Linked DNA regions of Homo sapiens: all the other regions are linked to region 1. The links are contacts of gene promoters, found by promoter capture Hi-C in blood cells and fetal thymus (Javierre and others, 2016). All regions are on one chromosome and are shown on one strand. The core of a region is centred on a gene start or on the middle of the fragment in contact, and the rest is flanking DNA. Distances in the headings are between cores, read along the strand shown.

Region 1 (3,519 bases), core at 301-2,800:
GTATTCTATCACTAGGAAAACTGAAGACAAAGCTATTGACGGAAAATGTAATTTGTCTATAAATGATGGATACTGCAGTAATCAATTTATTTTAAATTAGTATACATGCAGTATCAATAAAGAGACCAAAAAAAAACCTTCAATGTCACAACACTATCAACTAGTCTAATGATTTTTACGTGTACAATCTTTTCTTATTATTTCTTATTTTTAAGACGCACTTAATTAAATAGTATCTGTAAATCTAAGAAAGGTCGGAAGGGAAAACCAGGGTATTGGGCAAAAACGTTTCCATCAGCATCATATATTAATTTGAGTTCCTTAAAAGGAGTGGATAAATGTCTTCCACAGACACTTTATTCTCCTAAAGATCCTTCTTTACTCTCTACTCCCTGGAAGATTCAGTTCGTTCTCACAAAATATTGCCATTGGGCACTTTTATCAACTACAACAGACAAAGAGGCATCAGGATAGAGGGGAGAGGATCTTTCACAAAGCTCTAATCTCAGCCACGCACGGTGGCCCACGCCTGTAATCCCAGCACTTTGGGAGGCCGAGGCAGGCGGATCACCTGAGGTCAGGAGTTCGAGACCAGCCTGGCCAACGTGGTGAAACCCCGTCTCTACTGAAAAATACAAAAATTAGCTGTGCGTGGTGGCGGGCGCCTGTAATCCCAGCTACTCGGGAGGCTGAGGCAGGAGAATCGCTTGAACCCGTGAGGCGGAGGTTGCAGTGAGCCGAGACCGCGCCATTGCATTCCAGCCTGGGCGACAACAGCTAAACTCCGTCTCAAAAAAAAAAAAAAAAAAAAAAAAAACTAATCTCAGGAACGTCCTAATACAATTTATTTGAGAATTAGAAACGATCTTTGGAGTAAATACATATTTACAACACTTTACTTGTAAATGACAATGACATCGAGAAATCTTAAGCCAGCTAGAAAGTAAATCACATGGTGTCATCTCCGCTCAAAATGCTCCAACGGCTTCTCGTCTTATTCTGAGACTGACTGGGTCTGCACTCCAACTCCATCCCAACACATACACCCATCTCCGATTACCCTTCCCGCTGGTTCACCACTATCGGCTACGCCGGCCTCCTGAGGTTCTTAGAACATGCCGTGCACATCCCTGCCCGGGAATTTTGCACTTGCTGTCCCCTCTTACCTGTTCCACTCTTTGCTCGGATTTCTGTATTTATGACTTTTCAATTTCCTTCAAGTCTCGGCTCAGATGCCACTTCTCAGTGGAGCTTTTCTTGTTTAAAAATACAAGCCAGCCTCCCACACCTCTTCCCCCTTCCCTGTGTTATTTTTCTCCATAGCACTTATCACCTTCCAATGCGGGCGGGAGAAGCACTGCTCCTCAGGGGGGCGCGAAACCCCGAGCCGGGGGGCCTCCCCTCTCCCACGCTCCCGGCCCCCGCAGACTCACCAGGTTCCGCAGCTGGGCCGCCTGCTCCTTGTGATAGTCCAGCCGTCCCAAGGAGCAGGGCCGATACTTGTCCACCCAGAGGCTCATGGCAGCTCGAGTTCCCGGGGGCCTACGCTTGAAAATCCCGCGCGAGCGCGCGTCCTCCCCACAACGCAGAGACAAGTTTTCCCGCGAGCTCCAAATCTCGTGACGTCACTACCGGTCGCGGCCGCGTAAATGATTTTGGACGGAAAGGCTACGGGGGCCGTGTGCAGACAAAATCAGCTGCCGCGTCGATGCCCTCTAGTTCTGAAGTTCACTGCTTTATTTATTTTCTCTTTGTTCGCACCGTCTATTATATTCTAGAAATTATCAAGCGGAATTGAAAATGTGGTTCTGACCCTTTTGGCGTCACATCCAGATACCTCAGAGAAGACCGTTCCTTTCATTTATTCATTCTTTCATTCACTTAATTCATTCAACAAAAATTTACTAAATATCTGCTAGGTGTGGAACTCTGTCCTCGGCACTAGAATATATACATCTCAGGGTTTCACTCACTTGGCAGGTACCCAGTAAAGCTTCATTGGATGAATCGCTTGAAAATGTCTGATCTTCACTATCCTTTGTTACCTCTATTCCTCAATATTCTTATTGGATTAGAAACAAAAGAATCAAGAGCATGGAAAAACTACCCAAATGTGGTCTGTAGGGGAGAAGACACGAGGTTAATATGCATTCTAAGTCTAGAATATTTGAAAGCCCTCCAATTAAAATGTGTAGAAGCATCTGAACCCCTCAGAAAAATATTCTGCATATGAAGTTGATATGCAACTTTTGAAGTTCTCTTCAAATAGTGCCTCTCAAAATGCACTTTACTCATTGTACATAATATTAATTCCTTATTTAATTTATGCTTTTATTTTATGTATTATTAAGAACCCTAAGTCCTGCCATTTGATTGCAAGGTCTTACAGGCAGGAAATGATTTCCAAATATACTTAATAACCTTTCACCAAGGTGCCTCTTACTCATTTATTAATCAATAATTTATCATGTTCTTCTATGAATCGTCATATTACATGAATTACTCCTGCAGGTAAGGTATTATCCACACCACCAAGTATAAGATTTAATCCCTGTTCTCGAGAAACTTTCTATAATAAGCCTGGAAGGCTTCTGCCTCAGGGCCTTTGCAATTACTGTTTCCTCTTCCTGGACTATGTTTCTCCAGTCAGCAGAGTTGGGTCCCTCATTTCCTTCAGGATGTTGGCTCAAGTATTATCTCCTCACTGAGGCTTCCCTGACCACCCTATTTAATATTGCAAAAAAGCTTCATCTTCTTTATGCTTCTCTCCTTTGGAATTGAAATGGAGGAAGTGTTTGAAATGAGAAGGTAAAGGAAATCAGAAGCAGGGATACTGAATTGTGGTCTATGTGTATATCATAATCATAATGAATGATAATGGAAATAAGTACTGAGAGGAATAAAGAGAAGAACCAAGTGCTAGAATGATCAATAATTTGGCAAGAGTGACCACAGGCATGACAGACAACTTCAATAAGGAGCAGTGGTTGATGGTCTCTACCGTGAAGACATGTCTCTACCATTGAAGCACATGAAGACATGTGCTTCAATATTGTTGGGGGTTCTGAGGAAGGAGAAATAGTGTGGTGACCCAGGAAGTCCAGTTAAATTTGAATTTCAGAAGCTTTTTCATATGTCTATGGCAAAATTTATTACAAATGATTTTTTTTCTCATATAAGTATGTCCCTGGCAATATTTGAAATTGTAATAAATATTGCCAGGGACATACTTATATGAGAAAAAAAATCAGCCTTTATCTGAAATTCAAATGTAACCAGGGCCCTGTATTTATCTAGCAATTTTACTCCAGACTCTTGAATATATAGGATATGAGAAATTGCTACAGAGGAAGTAAAGTCCTCGGGGTTGGTAAACTACAGCTGCAATCACTTTAATGTTTAATGACTCTGGCCCTCAGGTATCTTAGCTCTTTTTTTTTTTCTTGAGATGGAGTCCCAGTCTGTCTCCCAGGCTGGAGTGCAGTGATGCGATCTCGGCTCACTGCAACCTCCACCTCC
Region 2 (3,519 bases), core at 266-2,765, 1.2 Mb after region 1:
TTCTTCTGTAGGTTGTGTTTTCATTTTCTTATGTCCTTTGATGCAGAAAAGTTTTTAATTTTTATAAAGTCCAATATATATTTTTTATTGTTTGTGCTAATAAATTCAGGTTCATAAAATTCTACTCCCATATTTTCTTCTAAAAGTATACAGGCTTAAATCTTACATTTACATCATTGATCATTTTGAGCTCATTTTTATCTACTATGTGAAGGAGAGGTCCAACTTAATTCTTTTGCATGTGGAAATCCAGTTGTCCCAGTGTCATCTGTTGAAGATATTCTTTCCCTCTTTGTTTTTAATAAGAATATCCTGGTTCCTCCTCTAGAAATTTTGATTCAGGAGGTGTGGGGAGAAGCTTCAGATTCTGCCGTTTTTAAGGAATGTCTCAGACAATTCCTATGGTCAGACAAGTTTAGAAAACAGTTTAGAACACAACTTCAGGTGCTCAATTCATGTTGTAAAGAAGCCAAAGAACTTTTTTTTCCCTTAAATCCTGGCTTTGCCTTCAGATACATATTCCTGGCCTATACTATATCCAACTGACAACTTAGGTAAGAACTCCTAATTTTCACAAAAAACTGTCAACTTTACTGCACCTTTGATCTCTAAAACATTGGGCTCTGCCAAAACAATACAATCAAACTTGCCACAATACAGACTCAGATCATTCATTCTTTCAACAACAAATATTTATTGAGCACCTATTATATCCCAGGTACTGTTGACTGGGGAATATAACTGTAGGAGAAAGCCAAAGATTATTGTTCTCGTGGCATAGCTTATATTAAAGTTGAAGGAAAACAGACAACAAATGTCAATGTATGTGTTAGATAATGTGAAATGTTAAGAAAAATAGGGGCCGAGCGCCACGGCTCACGCCTGTAATCCTAACACTTTGGGAGGTCAAGGCAGGTGGACTGCTTGAGCCCAGGAGTTTGAGACCAGCCTGGGCAACATGGTGAAACGCCACCACTACAAAAAATACAAAAAAATTAGTCCCAACTAACTGGGAGGCTGAGGTGAGAGGATCACCTAAGCCTAGGGATGTCGAGGCTACAGTGAGCCACGATCCCACCACTGCACCCCAGCCCAAGCAACAGAGTGAGACCCCATCTCAAAAAAAAAAAAAAAGAAAGAAAAAAAGAATCAATAGAGATGGCCAGGTGTGGTGGCTCATGCCTGTAATCCCAACACTTTGGAAGGCCAAGGCAGGTGGATCACTTGAGACAGGAGTTCGAGACCAGCCTGGCCAACATGGTGAAACCCTGTCTCCACCAAAAAAAGAAAAAATACAAAAATTATCCGGCCATGGTGGTGCATGCCTGTAATCTCAGCTACTCGGGAGGCTGAGGCAGGAGAATGACTTGAATCCAGGAGGCGGAGGTTACAGTAAGCCGAGATGGCGCCACTGCACTCCAGCCTGGACAGAAGTGAGACTCCGTCTGAAAAAAAAAAAAAAAGTAAGGAAGAGAACTGTTTTAGCTTGCAAAGACTGGAAAGGACTCTATGACAAGGTGACATTTGAGTGGAAACCTGAAAAAGAATGATGATAAACCATGCAAATACCTGAGGGAAGAATACTCAAGACAGAGTGAGGCTCAGAGATTTTAACCTTGCACTATCTACTACCCAACTACTATCAAAAAAGACCAGAGAACAATTATATTTCTGAAGGATTTTTTAAAGAAATCCCATTCATCACTTCCTCTACATCAGGGCTTCTCAACCTCAGCACTCTCACGTTTTTTGCCAAAAATTCTTTATTGCAAGTGGAGGTCAGGGTGCACCTGTGCATTGTACAATGTTCAGCAGCATCCCTGGGCTCTACTCACTAGATATGAGGAGGGCATGCACACCATCACCATCCCCAGTTGTGACAACCAAAAATGTCTCCAGACATTGCCAAGTGTCCCCTGCAGGGCAAAATCACCCCACACTGAGAACTACTGCTCTAGGTCTGTTCTTACACTCAGATTCCACATAGGAAACCCATAAATGGTCTTCAGGAGGTCTATGAACCATCTATAGTCATCTAAAAGAGTATACAGAGTTTGCATGCATGTGATAATGTACATTCTTCTGGGGAGATGGAGCAGAGCTTGTGGTGTATTCTCTAACATCTATCGTCAAAAAAGAAAGTTAAGGAACACTGCTTCTAATATCTCAAGGATGTGAAGAACAATACCTGGAAACTCCAAATTTGAGCTATACTTGTCTTGGCCCCTACATTCACTTTCAGTTAGTTGAATGCAATTGGGTATCTTCTTTCTTTTCTTTTTGGCTTTCATTAAGTAACCCATTAAAAGCCTATAAACTAGTCACTGAATTTGCTGAAAGATGTTTTTGGAAAATCATCAACTCTGATTTTATTATCATCCATATTTTTTAACAAATGAAGAAAACTGGGACAAGAGAAATTCGCTGATTTTGCCCAAGATCAGAAAGTTCCCAAATGGCAGAATTAGAACTACATCATACCTGCTTACATGGTTATATGGCTGGAAATGGCCACAGAGGCACACTCAACTTCTTGGTTTATTTCAAAAATAAACTATAAAAGCCCTGTAAGCAAGGTACAAAACCAATAAATCAAAGGGCATAAGATGAATAAGAAATATCAACCATAAGATAAACATTGTCTAAGAGCTATTGAGGAGAAGTGAAGCTTTATGTGACATCTGCATCCTCGCTGAAACCTAATGGGTCAGTGAGTAATGTAATGGATAACTCCAACAAGGATAAACACAGAAGTGAGTTTTAACCACCCCTTTTTATCCCTCAATGCAAGCCAAAGTACAATTCAAAGTACTTAAAGTATGATTCAGTAGAAAACATTCTACAAGAATTGTAGCCAACACAAGGTATCCAATGTAGCCAACACTCGGTATCCAAATATACAAGAAATGCAGCCAACACAAGGTATCCAAAAAGCCAGTGATCTCAATGTCTGGTTTGACCTAGAAAAAAAAGAAAAGGTTAAAAAAAAAAAATCGAACAACTCGGAGCAATGATTCTTCAAACTTATTTTAATCATGAAACAAACTCTTCTAACCAAAACATTATAACAATGTGCAATATATCAAATAGGTTAAAAGAGAGCTGCTCTGGCTGAATTGAGTGATGGGTATTCCAATACCCCCAACTTCTCTTGTCAAGAAAGTTCACAGAGAAAAATTTGAAAACCGGTGATCTGTCAGATGTTACTGGAAATGTGAATTATTACAGCCTTTCTGAAAAGATTTGTGTTAATACCTATTAAATTTTAATGACACATTCCCTTCAACCCAGCAATACTTCTCTTCCAATTCTCACAGGAATAAAAATGTCAATATAAATGTACTAGAATATTTATCTTAGCACTGTTTAAAACAAGTGGAAAAAAAAATCTGACATCGAAAAGGGAACAACAGCTACATGAAGTGTGGTAAATCTTTACCATGGAATATTATGCAGTCATTACAAAGAAAAAAATATAACAGTGTTAGCCAATAATATTAATGTACTAACGAGTGGGAA
Region 3 (3,519 bases), core at 413-2,912, 1.2 Mb after region 1:
TGAATGAGCCATGACAGAAATATTTCTACCCCTGAAACAAGAAAACTATTAGATGCAAACCAAAAAATAGATATAAACATTCTTAACAAACATAAATGGTAACCTTCCCCACCAACCAAAATTTGTAACTACCTCCTAATTTATAGTAATTTACTTTACCATTTAATGAAAATCACTCTATTGAACATTTCCCCAAATTATTTTTAGAAAAACAAAACTTATTTTTACTTTCATTTCCTCAGTGGCAAGCTTTGTTATTTGTCCTAACCCTCCAACTAAAAATAATAATAATAATAGTAAGCTAGAGAAAAATAAAAAATAAATACTTTTTAAAAGCACCACAAAGTACTCAAACTAAAACCTAAGAGAAAATAGGAATCCAGGGAAGTAAGTGGGAACACTGGGACATTATAGCTACTTATACTCTGAAAGCATTTTTCATTTCTGACAAATGTGGGATTCAGTTTTGATGGTCTTATAGGGCAAGGGGAACAGAAGTAAATCTGAACATATCAAGGCAGACAGTCAAATAGGAAACTCTCCTGACATTAATGTAGGCCACCACCCTACCCAAAGAAGATATACCTGCAAAGGAGAGGGTAAACTAGAAATGAACACCTCTTTTCCCCAGCCCCACCCCCTAGAGGGAACCGCTGAGAAGGCTGCCTTGGTGCTAAACAGAGAAAGGCAACATGAATACAGGGAAGGAACAGGTAATTAGTTTTGGCCATGGGCCTGCACACTTGCTGGGGCTGACATGACCTAAGTGGCCCAGAGAATCTCAAAACATGAACTCACAGACCCCTGGTTAATAACAGCCCCAAGCACCTAACATAAGTAAATCCAAGTCCTGCCTAGAGAAGGGTGCCTTCATCCTAAGTATCAAAGAATCCCCACTATGATGTTTCTAGAACAATGAGCAAGTATCAAGTCAAAAATAACCAAGCAACTATGAGGGAGAACCAGCAGAAATACCACACAACAAAAACAGACACAATTTTTGTGTCTATCAAAGACTGTAAAACTACTATAATCTTAAAGAAATAAAAGACAATTCCAAAAATATCTACAGGAAACAAAAAAAATTATAAAGACTAAACTAGAAGATTTTTTTTAAATAGAACTTCTAAAAATGAAAAAATACAATTACTGAAATTGAAAATTCAACAGGTCAATGTATTCGCAGATACGAAAAACCATTAAAGGCCAGGTGGGATTGCTCACGCCTGTAATCCCAGCACATTTGGGAGGCCAAGGCAGGCCTTTTGAGCTTAAACTTTGAGCTCCAAAGTTTAAGAACAGCCTGGGCAACATACCAAAATCCCATCTCTACAAAAAATACAAAAATCAGCCAGGTGTGGTGGCACACCCCTGTAGTCCCAGATACTCGGGAGGCTGCAGTAGGGGAGCTGCTTGAACCCAGGAGGTAGAGGTTGCAGTGAGCTGAGATTGCGCCACTGCATTCCACCTGTCTCAAAAAAGAAAGAATGAAGTGAAAGAAAGGTCATAAGAAATTATCCGGAGTGCAACACAGTGAAACATACACCTGAAATACATAAGGATAGAAAGGCCTAAATGTAGCCTACAATTCATGGAAGTTATAGAGAGAGAAGAATGAGAGATTCACTCATGGGATTCATGAGAGTACCAGAAGGACTAGATTGAAGCAGAGGCCAAATACCTACAGAGAATATCATAAAATACCAACCTACAAATTCAGTAAGCCAAACAGGGTTAAATTTAAAATAATAATAATTCCAGAAAACAAACAAAATTTAGAGCACACACAGTACCTTGAAAGGAATAGCATTTAAACTAACAGGTGACTTCTCAACAGCAACAACATAAGCCAGAAGACAGCAAAATGTTATCTTCAAAGCAGAGAAAGAATATAACTGCAAATCTAGAAGTTTACAACCAAGGAGTATAATTTTTAAGTGCAGAGTAAAATAAGGGCAAATTAGCCAAATGAAAACTAAGAGGTGTAAGTATTTATATATAAAGTACCTACAACATTGCTTAGCACATACTAAGTACTATATGTGTATGTAATATACACAATCAGGTTAAAAGAAAAGATTTTTAAATTTCAACATAAACACCTTAAAAGACAATGAAAAAAGTGGATACATGCTGAAAGTAAAAGGATGGAAAATTATGTCATGCAAACACTAAAACCCGTTAAGCTAAATATCAAGTTAAAAAAAAAAAAGATAAATAGGCCCCAGATTCACTCTGTGGTATTTACTCAATAGAAACGTATAGTTTGTCCACCGTAAGACATATAAAAAAATGTTCACAGCAATACCATTCAGTTGCCAAAACAGAAAACACAAATGACCATCAACACTAGAATGAATAGCAATTTGTAGTATAGTCATACAATGGGGGCAAAAAAAAAAAAAAAAAAAAAAACACAGCCATGAGAGAATAAATCATTGCCTCACACAATAATATGGATTAACATTACAAACATCTGGATGGGCATGATGGTTCACATCTGTAATCCCAGCATCTGGGAAGGCTAAGGCAGGTGGATCACTTGAGCCCAGGAGTTCAAGACCAGCCTGGGCAATACAGTGAGACCTCATCTCTACAAAAAATAAAAATAAATTAGCCAAGCATAGTGGTGTGCACCTGTGGTCCCAGCTACCCGGGAAGCTGAGGTGGAAGTCCTGCTTAAGCCCAGGAAGTCAAAGCCACAGCAAGCCATGATCACACCACTGCACTCAAGCCTGAATGACAGAGTGGACCTTGTCTCAACACACACCACACACCACACACCACACACCCACACACCCACACACACACATCAAAGTGAAAGAAGCCAGACACAAAACACTACATAAGAGTATGATTACATTTATAAGCTCGAAAACAGAGAAACCTAATCTATGACAGTAAAAGTCAGGACAGTGATGTTTTGGGAGACAAATGTTAACGGAAAAAGGGGTGAAAAGATACTTCTAAGATGCTAGTTACACAAGTATTTTCACTTTGTGTGAAGTCATATAGAGCTAAAGACATAAGTTTTACACTTTCCTGAATGTATGTTATACTTCAACAAAAAGCTTAACAAAACAGATAACAAGAAAAGCTCCAGACATTTACATTTTTTAAAGCACTTCTTAATAATCAATGAATCAAAAGAAAACAAGCGTAGGATCAACAAAGTCAAAAATCACAGGTCAATCTTATAAATTTGATAATATAACATTTGAAAATGTAGATAAAGCTGAGAAACTACATCTTATTACCAAAACTAACTCAAGAAAGAAAAAAATGATTAAGAAACAAAATCAATCATTAACAGATCTTTCCACAAGGAAAAATATCCAAGTCTAGATGGCTTTACTAGTGAGTCCTGTCAAATAAAGGAAGAAATATTTCCCATGTCATACAAATAGTTCCAAGAAATGAAAAACAAGGGAATCCTTCCCAACTAGTTTTAAGCAACTAATTAGCATAACTCTGACAACAAAACCCAATGAGAACTATCAGAGGCCAGGCACAATGGCT
Region 4 (3,519 bases), core at 260-2,759, 1.1 Mb after region 1:
ACTATGTAACAGAAATGTTCCTCTGTAGGAAGATTGTATGATATAATGAAGTAATTTCTTCCAAAATTAAATTACATGTTAATATAATTTTAATCAAAATAATTTAGATTTTGATTATTGTTCAGGTTTTTTGGTGGGGAATGAGAGGAGAAAAGGGGACATGAAGAGAGAATTTAACAAAACATCTCTCATCTTCTCAATAAACATCATTAGCAGAGACTGAAGAAGAGGAGAATAAACTAGACTGACCAGACAGTAAAAAAGTCTATAAAGTTCCAATGTCCAAATCACAATGGTACGAACATTAGAATAATCATGAAACAGAAAATGTAAGGCAGTTAAGTAGACTCTAGAATATATAAAAAATTAGATTATATAAATTGTAAGAGATTACAAAGAAGTCAACAGAAAATAAATAGTCCTGGGAAAACTGAATAGCTATTGGGAGAAAATCAAATTAGACCCCTTGCCCCCACAACACACTTTCAAAATAAATTTCAGATGGGTTGTGTTTAAGATTTTAAAAAATAAAAACAACAAAAACCCTCTGTATAAGATAGGGTTTTTTAAAGCATAAAATAAACAAAAGGAATCAAATGTGGAATGTAAAAAAAACAGCACACAGCAGAAAAATATACTAAGTATAATGCCACATTTATAAGTTTCTAAAATAATCAAAATAAGCAACATGTTATTTAGAGATACATACATAGATGATAAAACTATAAAGAATATTGAAAGAATAATAAATCCAAAATTCAGGACAATGATACCTGGTAAGGGGATGTAAGCAGGCAAGAAAAAAGACTACTCAGGGAACTTGAACAGTATTTTTAATATTCAATTTAATTTGACACTCTATTTACTTTTCACTTGTATTCACTTGGTTACTACACTTCATAATTTACATATAAGAGAATACATGTTTGTACATATATCAAATATGTCCCAGGAAAAAGCAAAGGAAATAAAAAGCTTATTTAAATCAGTTTAAAAAAAAACAAAAGATAGAGATGTCAGTAGATGTATGAGCAAAGGATAAAAATGACCATAGGGAAAACACAAATGATTAACATATGGACCTCACTAGTATTAAATATGCAAATTAAAACATTATTTTTGCTTATCAGATTCGCAAATCTTTTAAAAATGTATTATATTCCATATTTTGAAGGTTAAAAAGACGGGTACCTTCACATACTACTGATGGGATTATATATCGGTAAAATTTCCCTGTACAGCAATTTAAATATATATTGCTCCAAGAATTTTGAAAGTGGTCACTCTCTTTAACTCAGTAATGCTCTCCCAGTTTTCTAAAAAATAAGATATTACCAAGAGATCTTACATAGAAACATTCACCTTAGTGTTGTTTGTAAGAATAAAAGTAGAAAAATCAAAATATTCAACAATAGGAAAATACTAGTGATACAGAGAAAGGAGAGTCCCAAAGTGAGGATTAGCCCGCAAGGATTCTTGGCTTTGCCAAGGAAAGAATTCAAGGGCAAGCCAGTGATAGGGCAGAAGAAAATAGCTTTACTGAAGCAGCAGTCTTACTGCTCCGGAGGTGTTACATACACCTCTATGACTGCTTCTGCAGAACAGTACTACCCCATAGGTAGGGTGCAGAGAGTTGTAGCTCAGGGCAGTTTTACAGTAATATTTATACCTACTTTTAATTATATACAGACTAAGGGGGCAGTTTATGCAGAAATTCCTAGGGAACGGGGAGTAGCTTTTGGGTCATCAGGTCATTGCCAAGGAAAGGGACAGTAACTCCGGGGTATTGCCATAGCAATGGTAAACTGACAAGGCACATTGGTGGGCATGTCTTCTGGAAAGCTGCTTCTATCTCGCCCTTGTTTTAGCTAGTCCTCAATTTGGTCCTGTATCTGAGCTCCGCCTCTGGAGTCCAGTCCTGCCTCCTACCTCGGTAGGATAGTATGATGCCCCAAATATGGGCTAATCACCATTTCAAAAATGTTTATTATTATTTTTACTATGAGCTAGGCATGGTGCTAAGAAATTCATGTACAAGCTTTAACGTCCTTTGCAAGACAAGTACTTTATTATTATCTCGATTTCATATGAGGAAATGAGGCAAGTAATGTGGTCAAAGGCAGACAGCTACTAGATGACAGCCAAAAACCAGATCTGCTTTAGACACTCTTAAAAAAAAAAACTCTTGAAAAACACCGAGAAAAATGCTTATACTTTAATAAGGGAAAATAGTTAAGGATACAAAATTGTATATTCAGTTTGATCTCAATGATCCCAACTATGCATTTGTTGAAGATTAAAAGGAAACAAAAGAAACTAATGTTTATGTATGATCAACCTATGTTTTTTATAATTTTATATATTCTAAAGTTGTCAATAATGAATTAATATTTTTACAATCAGTAAAAGACAGAATATTTTATGAAACAAAAAAAAATAAGAGTTTTAGAAAGAATTTGGCTCATTCTACAGCAGAGTTGTACCTTCTTTGCTCACTAATGACACCCTGAATTATACTCCACTATTTTAATATAATTAGTACTAGGCTAGATTACAGCATTTAAACCCCAAAATAATCAGATTACATGTAAGAATAAATATACAACTTCTAAATCATCTAAAACAACTGAGAAAATTTTACTTTGGATTATACAAACTTAAGAAGAAAACATCAAGAACAAATAATATAAACTGTATATGTTAAACAGATATCTAATTAGGCACTTAATTTTAAATAGATACTTACCTTAAGCAGTTCAAGACCTGCTCTGATGGCTTGATCAGTTGGAACACCCTCATCTTCATCATCTGCTGTTCCATCTATTGATTTGTTCACTTGTTTAATAAGAGCACTAAAATATGACCAAAAAAGTCATTTTTTCAAATGTTACTAGCAATGTCTAAGAAAAATAATCCTGTGTTACATATATGTGCACATACATATATACATATCCGAACCAAATACAAATTTGATATAGCTGGTTTTTAACACTACTGCAAAACAACTATAGTATTTTCAGATGCTTCTTTTCAAAAACAATTCTTTTCCCTTGCCCATTCAAATGAGGTCAAAATGTTATTCAATTTGCTCTTTATTAATGCTATCAATATCTTTATCATCTTTTCCATGGCAGGTCTGAGCCCAAACACATAAATGACAAATTATTTTTAATTATCTAAAACTGATCACTAGTCCAGTAAGTAGAACAATATACACAGAAATAAAAAATGATAAAGGAAACATTAAGCACTTCCAAACCATTTACCAAATATTACTGTGTGTCACGCACAGCTGTCAAAGTCAGAAATATACCTAGGCCTCCTCCTAAAAGGTGTAAGAATCCTAGGTAACAGACATACAATAAAACCTCATTAGAACATCAGAAAAGGAACTACAATAGATCAAAAGGAAACATGATGTTTTCAAGCTTTCTTCTAATAAAAACAAGCTTATGTTATTTTATTTATTTATTTATTTATTTATTTATTTATTTATTTATTTATTTTTGAGACGAAGTT
Region 5 (3,519 bases), core at 499-2,998, 1.1 Mb after region 1:
TGAACCAATTTTCATACTGAAACAAACGGAAAGGCTAAACAAAATATTTTTTAAAAATCAGTTTGAAGGCAACAGACAGCTACCAAAGCAGTGAGAATTTGCAGGGCAAAGTTTCAAATAAGGAGGGAAAGCAAAGATTTGAGTCTGGCACTGAGATTAGTTTTTTCACACAGACGATTAATGATTCTGAAAGTGAAAGGGGGATAAGAAGTTGAGCAAAGCTTTCCTGTCACAGAGCTAGAAGAACAAGATTAAGAATCCTGAGCCCATTAAGTAAAGGCCTTGTTAAACAACCTGGACTTCTGGGTGGATCCCAGACAAATATACTCTAGACATAAGGTGACCAGAAAAAAATAATAAGCTTGTCCAAAACTGAAGCCAAACTTCCATTTTCATTGGATGGAAGTGATCTGACGATAGCTTAACTGCCTGATAGAAACAAAAGTAAAACTCTGGGAAGAATATAACCACATCTGAAGCCTCACATTATCTCAACAACTTTTCATACAAAAAGTCTATCACTCAATCAAAAGCAATATATGTACAAGGTAAGATTTGACCAAAATTTTGAGAATAGACAAAAGTTACAAGAGATCAAGATGATAAGCCTAACAGATACAAACTTCACATAATTAAGATTTTTCAAGGATTTAATGACAAGCAAATTCTGCAGCAAAACAAAGAGCTATGTTTAAAAACTATAGAATTACAGAATTGAAGTATGTGTATATATGTGAAATTAAGAATTCAAAGCATGAGCTTTAGGTACGACTAGACAAAACTGAAGCGAGTGAACTCAAAGATAGGTCAGAAAAAAAACAAAAACTGAAGCATGAGGAGGCTGGCAGAAAAGTACACAAAAGTGTGTCACACAGCTAGGTCACAGCAAAAAAACAATGTACGTTTAAAGTGTGTTAATAGAACTGCAGTAAGAAAGGAAAGAGAATATGAAACAGAAATCGTATATGTAAAGATAATGCCTAAAAATTATTTAAAGTTTGTAAAAAACTTTAAGCTATATATACAAGAAGAGCTCTAAGCCCCAAGTACAATAACTATAAAGGAAAGCATACCCAGACACATCATAGTAAAACTGGAAACCAATGGAAAACAGAAAAGACAAAAACATTCACAGCAAACAGACAGAAGACCTTCAGAGGAACAAGACTGTCAATAAACTTCAAGAAAAAAGAAAATGGAAAATAGAATAATATATTCAAATCACTGATGGGGGAAAATACACCAGTCTAGAATTCTTAACCCAAAGAAAGCATCCTTTAAAAAATTAAGGTAAAATAAAGATCTTTCCAGACAAACAAAAACTGAGAAAATTCATTAGTGGAAATCCAAACTAAAAAAAAAGTACTAAAGTAGTTCTTTAGATAGAAAGAAAATCATTACATAGAAAGGAATGAAAAACAAAAGGAGAAAATATGTTGGCAAATCTAAATAAACATTAACTGCATAAAATAACAGCAGTAATAGAACTGGGTGAACAAGAGCACAAAAAAGCACCAAGGAATAAAAGGAATTAAAGTATTTTGAAGTTCCTTGTGCTATACTGAAAGTTCAAAGCAGACCAACTGACACTGGCCTTTAATAAGTCCAAAGTCCATGTTGTAATTTCTAGGAAAACTACTAAAATAATAGCAAAATGTAAAACAGACTGGTAAAATGAAATAAAAATATTTAATCAAAAATAAGAAAAGAGAAAAATACACAACTGACAGGACAAACTGAAAACAAAAAATCAGGTGGCAGATTAACCCAGATATCACTACTTATATTATGTTTACTTTTTGGAGGAAAAACTTTATCTCATGTTTCTTTTAATTCTCCAGAGAACCTAGTACAGTGCTGTCACAGCAGATACAAAATAACTGGAGACTAACAAAATCATTATTTCCTCTCCCAATGTTTTTTCGTTCTCTCCCAATGTAGGGAAAAGAACAAGTTTATATAGAAAAAGGTAAAACTATAATCATGACAACCATACTATGAGCTGGTTTACCAATCTGCATATTTTTAAAAATAGATGTCCTGTCAAAAATTAAACCCCTGTAAATCTGAAATAGATAGCATCAGGTTATATTTTATATTTATCAAGGAATGTATTTGAGGTCATATGCCTATTCTCAACTAAAAAGATGTTTCAAGATGGTTTTGCTTATAATGGAGACAAGGCTTATTTTTTTTAAACAGGAAAACCTAAAATCAAGGCAGTCAAATGGAAGTATTATTGATATCATTTCACTTCTTTCCTTGTTGGATAAAATTGCAAAAGTTAACATTACAAAGAACATGAATCTAAAAAATATAAATTACCCGATCATTCATGAGAAGATCTTTCACAATGAAAGTAGCTACCAAAGATTTCAAAGGAGCAGCAAATTGATCAGGTGCAAGGAGAGCAATATGACCAATAGTAACCAATGGTGTTATGAGATGTTCCAGGTTGCTTGGATCTAGGCTCTTATGCAGAGGCTGAAAATGAGGGGAGGAAAATATATTTCAACTCTACACATATACAAATAAACTGTTTACATATTTCATTTTCAAATTACAAAATTTATTTTGTAATTTATTTTGTAATTCAAATTATAAAAACTACAAAAATTTCAATAAATATACATAGTATAAGTAGTAACTCAAGATTACATTTAGACTTCTATAGGTTATCTATGTCCAGAAGGCATCAGGTTCAAACATTTTCAGTTTTGCCCAATTCAGTTTAGAGGTAGGGTAAAGAAACATTTCGACACAGACTTCATAGCATATAGTTTATGACCATATACATGAATGTGTTAGAGACTGCTAGGGCTCACCAATATCCACTTCAATTTCCTGGGCATAAGGATGACTCTACTTGCAGCTTCCTGTGCAGTTAAGTGAGGATATATGAATGAGTTCTGGTCAAGAGAGTGGGAGTAAAATGAAGTATGCCACATATGCACTGAGGTAGGTATGAGCAATATGTCTTCTCCACAGGCTCTACTCACTGGCTGGCTTGATGCCAAGGATCCAGTGGGATTTAAAGAGAAGTCACTAATCAGAATGAGTCTGTGTCCCTAAGCCACTGATTAGAGGGTCATTCAAACACCCACTAGACTTTTCAGAAGCAAGAAATAAGCTTTTACTACATCTAGTCACTTGAATTTGGGGATCTTCATTATAGCACCAAATATTAAATACCATAACAAATAAAATGATTTTTTGTTATTCTGATAGGAAACCCAACCATTAATATGCATTTTACCATGATAAAAGAATGAACAAGCTCTTCAAATACTCATATAAAATGATATCAGAAATATATTGTTAAGGCCGGGCATTAACAATTACAGATTACATCTGTAATCCCAGCACTTTGGGAGGCCAAGGCAGGCAGATCACCTGAGGTCAGGAGTTCGAGACCAGCCAGGCCAACATGGTGGAATCCCGTCTCCGCTAAAAATACAAAAATTAGCCAGGCGTGGGGCATACGCCTGTAGTCCCAGCTACTCAGGAGGCTAAGCCAGG
Region 6 (3,519 bases), core at 759-3,258, 1.1 Mb after region 1:
GAATTAACAGAATTTGGTGACGGATGAGAGGAGGGAAAAAAGGTATGAATAATGCCTCTGATTTCTGAGTGAGATAACTGGATGGATTTTAATGCTGTTTGTTAAATCATGGAAGTCAAGAGGCACACCAACTAACCTCAATGGGGTAAAGTGAGCAGATGAAAAGTAGGCACGCAAACACCTGATATTAATGTCAGCTACAGGTGAGAACAAACAACAAAGATCAAAGTCTTGTACTTTTTTCCAATTAAAATAAGATAATGCTCAATCTATATAAATGTACAAATTTTACTATTCTGTTAAAAGTACCTCCAATGTCATTGTTTATTTTCCTTGGCCATTTAGTCCTTTACATAAACAGATATAGGTTGATATTTAAGTACCATGCATTTTTTAAATGACCTTCATATTAAATGAAAAGCAGTTATTGAAAAATGGTAATAAAAATTGTTAATCACAAATAATAAATAACAGTAATATCATATATCATGCTATATTCTATAAAACTGAAACTAGCAGGCTGAAAAAGTATCCTTTCCATTTTCTTATATGCTTACCACTAACAGCTGCATGCTGCTTCAGATACTCCCGCCTTACATTTATATTTTTCACCAAACATTGCCTAGCATGAGCTCTTCTCTCCTTTACAGGATCTTTTGCACAAAGGGCACAGATTGCCATATACTCAAGTGGAAGCCGTAAACGGGAAAGGCCTTTGTGAAGTTTCTGGGCAAACACTTGTCTTACTTGATAGCATTCATCCTGTAAAGACACAATTATTCCAGATATTATTCAAATGGCAGCAAAGAGTAACAACTTCAGATATAAAATTTGCTATTTTAAGTAAAGAGTAAACAGTAGCAAGTTTATCTACAATAATTGCTTCACTGCTCACAAGAGTGAGATGTTGTGACTAAAGTTCATTTTGAAGCTGCAATATTCATCTGGGCCCTAATAAGTACCAGTTAGATGTGTTAGAAAACAAACATACTTTTAAAACAGAAAAAAACTAGTAAATATAAATCTGCCCTAACTTAAATAAGATACAAAAATTAAGGCTTAAACACCATCTCATATATATCTTTTTCATTTACTGGGCAAGATAAAACTGCCCAATTTATACATTTTAGTTCTGTCACTGAAAAAAACTATTCATATTAAAATGTACAACTCTAGCTGGGCATGGTGGTACACACCTGTAGTCCCAACTACTCGGGAGGCTAAGGCAGACATAGCAAGACCCTGTCTCTTAATAAAGAAATAAAAAGCACAACTCTGAAGGTAAGGATTACTAATCCATTTCAGAAACACCAAATTATTTTGACTTCTATACTTAAACCAGGCTGATTATTACCCGTGTGCCTGCTTAACTCATACTACTCCCCTCTCCTAAACTACCCACCCCTAGTCTCCTAGCTAACTCCTACTTATCCTTAAAGATAGCTTATATATCAGACAGAACGCAGTGTGTAATCTGTATCCAGCACCCACCTCTGTGCTCTTAGCATTCTGTACTTATCTCCAGCATAGCATTTAGTATAAAGTATTAAAATGATTGGTTTAAATGTCTGTCTTACCCACCAGTACTTGTTCCTTGAAGAAAAGAATTATGTTTTTATCTCTCTAAGCCTAACAAAAAACCTGGCACATAGATGATCAGAAGTTTTTCTGAACGACACTAGCTCCCCCTTATCAGTGGAGGTAGAGGATACATTCCAAGACCCACAGTGGATGCCTGAAACTGAGGATAGTACCAAATCCTATATATATTACGCGTTTTTCTATATATAGATACCTATGATAAAGTTTAATTTATAAATTAGGCACAGCAAGAAATTAACAGTAACTAATAAGATAGAACAAGTATAACAATATACTATATAATAAATGTTATGTGAATGTGGTCTCCCTTGTTCTTAAAATATCTTACTGTGGAAAAGCAAAACCAAAGATAGGGGAGACTACTGCACAGGGAAAAGTTCAAACTTTTCTATATGACCTACAAAGACCTTCATGATTACACCTTACACTCCACCAATTAAATAAGGTATGGTGTGTTTCTTACTATTGTAACAATTTCTTCATCTAGAATGATCATTTAGTTTATCTTCCCCAAAAATCTTGGTCATAACATCTCATCCTTATCTTTAAATCCTTATTTTAAAATCTTCTTTCATTTCATTTAAATTTCAGTTTATCAAAATACCAAACATCTAGTTTTACAGAAGTAGTCTAAACTAAAGAGCTTCTGCACAGCAAAAGAAACAAACCATCAACAGAGTAAACAGACAAACTACAGAATGGGAGAAAATTTTTGCAAACTATGCATCCAACAAAAGTCTAATATCCAGAATCTCTAAGAAACTTAAATAAATTAACAAACAAAAACCAAACAACTCCATTAAAAAGTGGGCAAAGGACATAGACACTTTTCAAAAGAAGATATACACACAGACAACAAGCATATGAAAAAATGTTCAACATCGTTAATCATTAGTGAAATGCAAATCAAAACCACGAGATACCATCTCATACCAGTCAGAACGGCCATTATTAGAAAGCCAAAAAATAATAGATGCTGGTGAGACTGTGGAGAAAGGGGAGCACTAATACAATGCTGGTGAGAATGTAAATTAGTTTAGCCATTGCGGAAAGCAGGTTGGTGATTTCTCAAAGAACTGAAAACAGGACTACCATTTGACATAGCAATCCCATTACTGGGTATATACCCAAAGGATTATAAATCATGTCTACCATGAAGGCACATGTATGTATGTATATGTTCACTGCAGCACTATTCACAACAGCAAAGACACAGAATCAATCTAAATGTCCATCAACAGTACACTGGATAAAGAAAATGTGATACAGATACACCATGGAATACTACATGTGCTTTTTGCAGCAATATGGATGGAGCTGGAGGCCATTACCTTTAGTGAATAAAGGAACAGAAAACCAAATACTGCTGTTCTCACTTGAAAGTGGGAGCTAAACATTGAGTACACATGAACACAAAGAAGAGAAGAACAGACACCAAAGCCTTCTTGAGGGTGGAGGGTAGGAGGGTGAAGATGGAAAAACTACCTTTTGGGTACTATGCTTATCACCTGTGTGATGAAATAATCTGTACACCTAACTTCTGTGACAAACAATTTACCTAGATAACAAACCTGTACATGTACCCCTGAACCTAAAGTTTAAAACACACACACACACACACACACACACACACACACACACACAGAGGGAGGCCGGGCGCAGTGGCTCACGCCTGAAATTCCAACACTTTGGGAGGCCAAGGCAAGTGGATCACCTGAGGTCAGGAGTTCGAGACCAGCCTGGCCAACATGGTGAAGCCCTGTTTCTACTGAAAATACAATAATTAGCCAGGTGTGGTGGCAGGCACCTGTAATCCCAGCTACTTGGGAGGCTGAGGCAGGAGAATCGCTTAAACCCGGGAGGCAGAGGTTACAGTGAGCCGAGATCACACCACTGCACTCCAGCCTGGGTGACAGA
Region 7 (3,519 bases), core at 453-2,952, 1.0 Mb after region 1:
GACCTGAATTCCATTTTAAAAGGGTAACTCTGGCTGCTGTGTGGAGAAAGGGCTCTGGGAGACAAGAGAAGAAGTAGACAAACCAGGTAAGAAGCTTCTGCAACAATCCTGATGTTATGGGTTGAATGTGCCCCTACCCACTCAAATTCATATATTGAAGTTTTAACCCCCACTACCTCAGAATGTGACTTATTTGGAGTTAGTCTTTACAGAGGTTTTAAGACGAGGTCATTAGGGTGGGCCTTAATCCAATATGACTGGTGTCCTTATAAAACGGGGAAATTTGAACACAGATACACACATAAGATGATATAAACAGACGCATGGAGGAGATAGCTATCTACAAGCCAGAGAGAAACCTGGAATAAATCCTGCCCTCAGAAGGAACCAACGCTACCAGCACCTTAATTTTGGTCTCCAGAATTTCCGGCCTCCAGAATTGTGAGCTAATAAATTTCTGTTAAGATATCCAGTTTGTAGTAGTTTTTATGGTGGCCCTAGCAAACTGATAAACCAGGTAAGATATAATAGTGGCTTGGATGGAAGTAGCAGTGGAGGTGGTTAGATCCTGGATATATTTTGCAAGAAGAGTCAACAGGATTTCCTGACAGATTAGAAAGGATGTGTGAGGGAAATGGAATCGACTTCATGGCTTGCGCATGAATAACTAAAATAATGAAATTGCTACAGATGGAGATGGGGAAAGCTGAGGTTGGACCGGGTTTGGAGGTGGGCACGGGTGGAAAGCCCAGGAATTCAGTTTTGGATATGTTATTAGAGATTGAATCAGGGATGATTATGACACAATTAATTGTGAGAATCAAACGAATTCAGTACATATTTGTTACATGTTTACTATGTACAAAGCACTGTGGCAGTTTTATATAGTATTCTTTAAATGTTTAAAAGTCTCTGTTTTATAGAAGCATAGGTGACAAGTTGTATGATGCTCCACCTCAAAATGGTGAAAACACTAAAACTAAGAAGTGGCATAGGCTATGCATGGGTTGGCCATAAAGTAATCAGAGTTTCTTTAATGGATTGTTAATTTCCTCTACAGATAATTTCATAGCTGTAAGTTAGCAAGATGATAATGACAAGTCATTACAGTTAATACTCTGAGGTATTCATTTAGAGTCATATGCTCTAGTGTGACTGGTTTTCTCAGTCTTGTTACTATAAAGATATGTATGCTTTGTGGGCTCAAGAATCAGAAAGATCTAAATCCAAATTCTGGCTCTGACCCAAGCCGTGTGAACATGGCAAGTTACTCTCCAAGTCTTGGTTCCTTTATCCGTAAAATGGTGATAAACATACCTCATAGGATTGTTGTAAAGAGTAATTAAGCGACACATATAAAATGCTTACTCTAGTGATCAGTTCACAGCAAGTACTCAATTAAACTATTACTATTCGTTTCTCATGGTGCTATAGGAATTCCGGTTGAAGCGAACCACTATCACTATATGGTCAGAAAAAAATATAATGGGACAAACAACCCCTAGGCTAGGACTTAAAGCAGAAGGGATATTTGCACAGGCAGCAGAGACCAATGCTTCTCAAGTTTTAAGGTGAATTTCAATTATCCAGGGATCTTACTGAAAAGCAGATTCTCAGGAGGTCTGGGGTGGGCTGTGAGATTCTGCATTCTTAACAAGCTCCCAGGTGATGCCCATCCTGCTGCTTGACCCACACTTTGAATACAAAGGGTCTAGATCACTGACAAGCAGAATGATGTAAGCCAGGACTAAGGGTGTAGATATACAGTGTGTTGAACGACAGGTACAGTCAGTCTGGCAGAAGTAAAGTTAACAGAAAATACCATGAAAAAGTTTGGAAAGTAGGATGAAGCCATATTCTGGCAGGCTGTGAAAGGCTTGTTGATTTTATACTTCATTGTGTAGTAGACAGCTGTGAGCGGGAGAACAATAGCTTGGTGGAGGTCAGGGAGGGTGGCTCACACCTGTAATCCCAACACTTTGGGAAGCTGAGGCAGGACTGCTTGAGTCCAGGAGTTCGAGAACAGCCTGGGCAACATAGTGAGACCTAGTCTCTACAAAAAGTACTGAAAAATTAGCCAGGTGTGGTGGCACACACCTGTAGTCCCAGCTACTTGGGAGATGGAGGTGGGAGGATTGCTTGAGCCCGGGAGTGCAAGGCTGCACTGAGCTGTGATCGCGCCTCTGCACTCCAGCCTGGGTGACAGAGCAAGACCTTGTCTCTAAAAAGAGAAAAGAATAACCTGGTAAGACAGCATCTTCACACACTCTGGTATTTATCTGTACAACACATCTGAACAAACAGGGGCTGAAGATGAAGAGGTCCGAGCAAGACTGCTCCAGTCAGGGTCCTTTCATCTGGGAGAAAGTGAAATCCCTTCAAACCAGTTTGAATAACAGGAAGTGGGGAGGTGGTTACTGCAAGGCCACAGTGCTCAGAAGGTGCAGGGGTGGATTCAGATCGAGGCCACCTCTTTCTCACGTAATCTCTAGGGACTTCTCTTCTTCTTTCCACACATCTGCTCACCCACCTTTGTCCTGCAGCAGGCTTTCCCTTAAATTCCTCTCACATATGGCCCAGAGTAGCCCGTGGATTTTTTATTTACTCTCCATGACTCACTGGAAACTTGTCTGTGTCTTTTAATTCAAATTCCTACAAGAAAATACAAACAGGTCACACAATACATAGGTCATTGTGAACGGGCTACTCTTCTCTGTGAGGTAGGATCAGAGGGAAGACAAGATCATGCAACTCAGTAGAGGCAATGTGCCACAGCAGATTAAAAAGGCTGTGGGCAGGTACCCCAATACATGTATGTTTAATGGGAAAAAATGTTCAAGTATAGTTTATCCTTAAAAAAAAAAAAAAAAGGCATCTCCTTGTTCCTCCTCATCCAGACTTCTCCAAATCAGCCTCCACTATCTCCACTTCCTGAACTCACATTTGCTCACCCCACTGCAGTCTGGCTTCTGCCTTCTTTTCCCCCACCCCAATAGTGCCCTAAGTCTGCACTATCAGAAGTCACCTGTGATTTCACAAGTCACTAAATACCAAAAACACTAACGTCAGTGTCTCTGTGGCTCCAATTCTGCCTTGTGTCAATAAGTACAGGGAATCTAGTTTCTCCACCAATATGCCCAAACAAATCCAATCACATCAAATATATCAGTTTGAATGAGGTAGTAATAAGGTGAGATTACACAATGAACATAATTTCATTTGACAAATTCTTTCCTCTGACATTTGCCTTTACTCAGTTTGTTCCTCTCCATATTCACCAAGGACAGCTCCTAGCCCCTCTGAAAGCTTGAAGCCAGCTGATCCCCAGAATCAAGGTTCAGTATTCTCCAACTTGAATGGTGATCTCACAAGAGGGAGTTCTCATCCCATACTCCTACTAGTGGAGAAGTGTCACCTTGCGGTTTCTTCCTGCACCATCTGCCAGATATGCGTGACTGTCCACTGTCCAATCATCTGAAGGTTCCTGTAGGCTGGGGGCTATCGTCCCATGAACAAGGT

What was found. Contacts are between HindIII fragments. The CHiCAGO score rates a contact against its expected background, and 5 or more counts as called.
Region 2: a fragment that was not itself captured here is called in contact with the fragment with the promoter of RFC3 in region 1 in 1 of 17 cell types (naive CD8 T cells); the score reaches 6.5 in naive CD8 T cells.
Region 3: a fragment that was not itself captured here is called in contact with the fragment with the promoter of RFC3 in region 1 in 7 of 17 cell types (fetal thymus, naive CD8 T cells, total CD4 T cells and 4 more); the score reaches 8.5 in fetal thymus.
Region 4: a contact is called between a fragment that was not itself captured here and the fragment with the promoter of RFC3 in region 1, in 1 of 17 cell types (naive CD4 T cells). The highest score is 5.1, in naive CD4 T cells.
Region 5: a contact is called between a fragment that was not itself captured here and the fragment with the promoter of RFC3 in region 1, in 5 of 17 cell types (activated CD4 T cells, naive CD4 T cells, total CD4 T cells and 2 more). The highest score is 7.4, in activated CD4 T cells.
Region 6: a contact is called between a fragment that was not itself captured here and the fragment with the promoter of RFC3 in region 1, in 1 of 17 cell types (total CD4 T cells). The highest score is 5.1, in total CD4 T cells.
Region 7: a fragment that was not itself captured here is called in contact with the fragment with the promoter of RFC3 in region 1 in 1 of 17 cell types (naive CD8 T cells); the score reaches 5.1 in naive CD8 T cells.

Annotation. Positions count from the first base shown.
Region 1 is chr13:33,816,180-33,819,698 of GRCh38, reverse strand. RFC3 (replication factor C subunit 3) reads right to left here and starts at 1,550. Exons shown (of 9, transcript NM_002915.4): 1 at 1,434-1,550. The coding sequence starts at 1,520. The HindIII fragment of the contact is 2,489 bases long and covers 1-1,995 here.
Region 2 is chr13:32,628,734-32,632,252 of GRCh38, reverse strand. The region is part of intron 1 of PDS5B (PDS5 cohesin associated factor B); the gene reads right to left. Among named protein-coding and RNA genes, the nearest start is that of PDS5B, 44 kb to the right of the region's middle. The HindIII fragment of the contact is 2,310 bases long and covers 361-2,670 here.
Region 3 is chr13:32,645,266-32,648,784 of GRCh38, reverse strand. It overlaps PDS5B (PDS5 cohesin associated factor B), which reads right to left. Exons shown (of 35, transcript NM_015032.4): 2 at 1-31. The coding sequence starts at 12. Among named protein-coding and RNA genes, the nearest start is that of PDS5B, 61 kb to the right of the region's middle. RefSeq lists an enhancer at 2,505-2,614. The HindIII fragment of the contact is 2,822 bases long and covers 252-3,073 here.
Region 4 is chr13:32,706,267-32,709,785 of GRCh38, reverse strand. PDS5B (PDS5 cohesin associated factor B) reads right to left here. Exons shown (of 35, transcript NM_015032.4): 18 at 2,747-2,852. Among named protein-coding and RNA genes, the nearest start is that of PDS5B, 120 kb to the right of the region's middle. The HindIII fragment of the contact is 1,063 bases long and covers 978-2,040 here.
Region 5 is chr13:32,734,137-32,737,655 of GRCh38, reverse strand. PDS5B (PDS5 cohesin associated factor B) reads right to left here. Exons shown (of 35, transcript NM_015032.4): 21 at 2,326-2,484. Among named protein-coding and RNA genes, the nearest start is that of PDS5B, 150 kb to the right of the region's middle. The HindIII fragment of the contact is 2,769 bases long and covers 364-3,132 here.
Region 6 is chr13:32,750,575-32,754,093 of GRCh38, reverse strand. PDS5B (PDS5 cohesin associated factor B) reads right to left here. Exons shown (of 35, transcript NM_015032.4): 25 at 558-762. Among named protein-coding and RNA genes, the nearest start is that of LINC00423, 160 kb to the left of the region's middle. RefSeq lists a silencer at 3,469-3,519. The HindIII fragment of the contact is 4,555 bases long and covers 1-3,519 here.
Region 7 is chr13:32,790,771-32,794,289 of GRCh38, reverse strand. No RefSeq gene overlaps it. Among named protein-coding and RNA genes, the nearest start is that of LINC00423, 120 kb to the left of the region's middle. The HindIII fragment of the contact is 3,212 bases long and covers 97-3,308 here.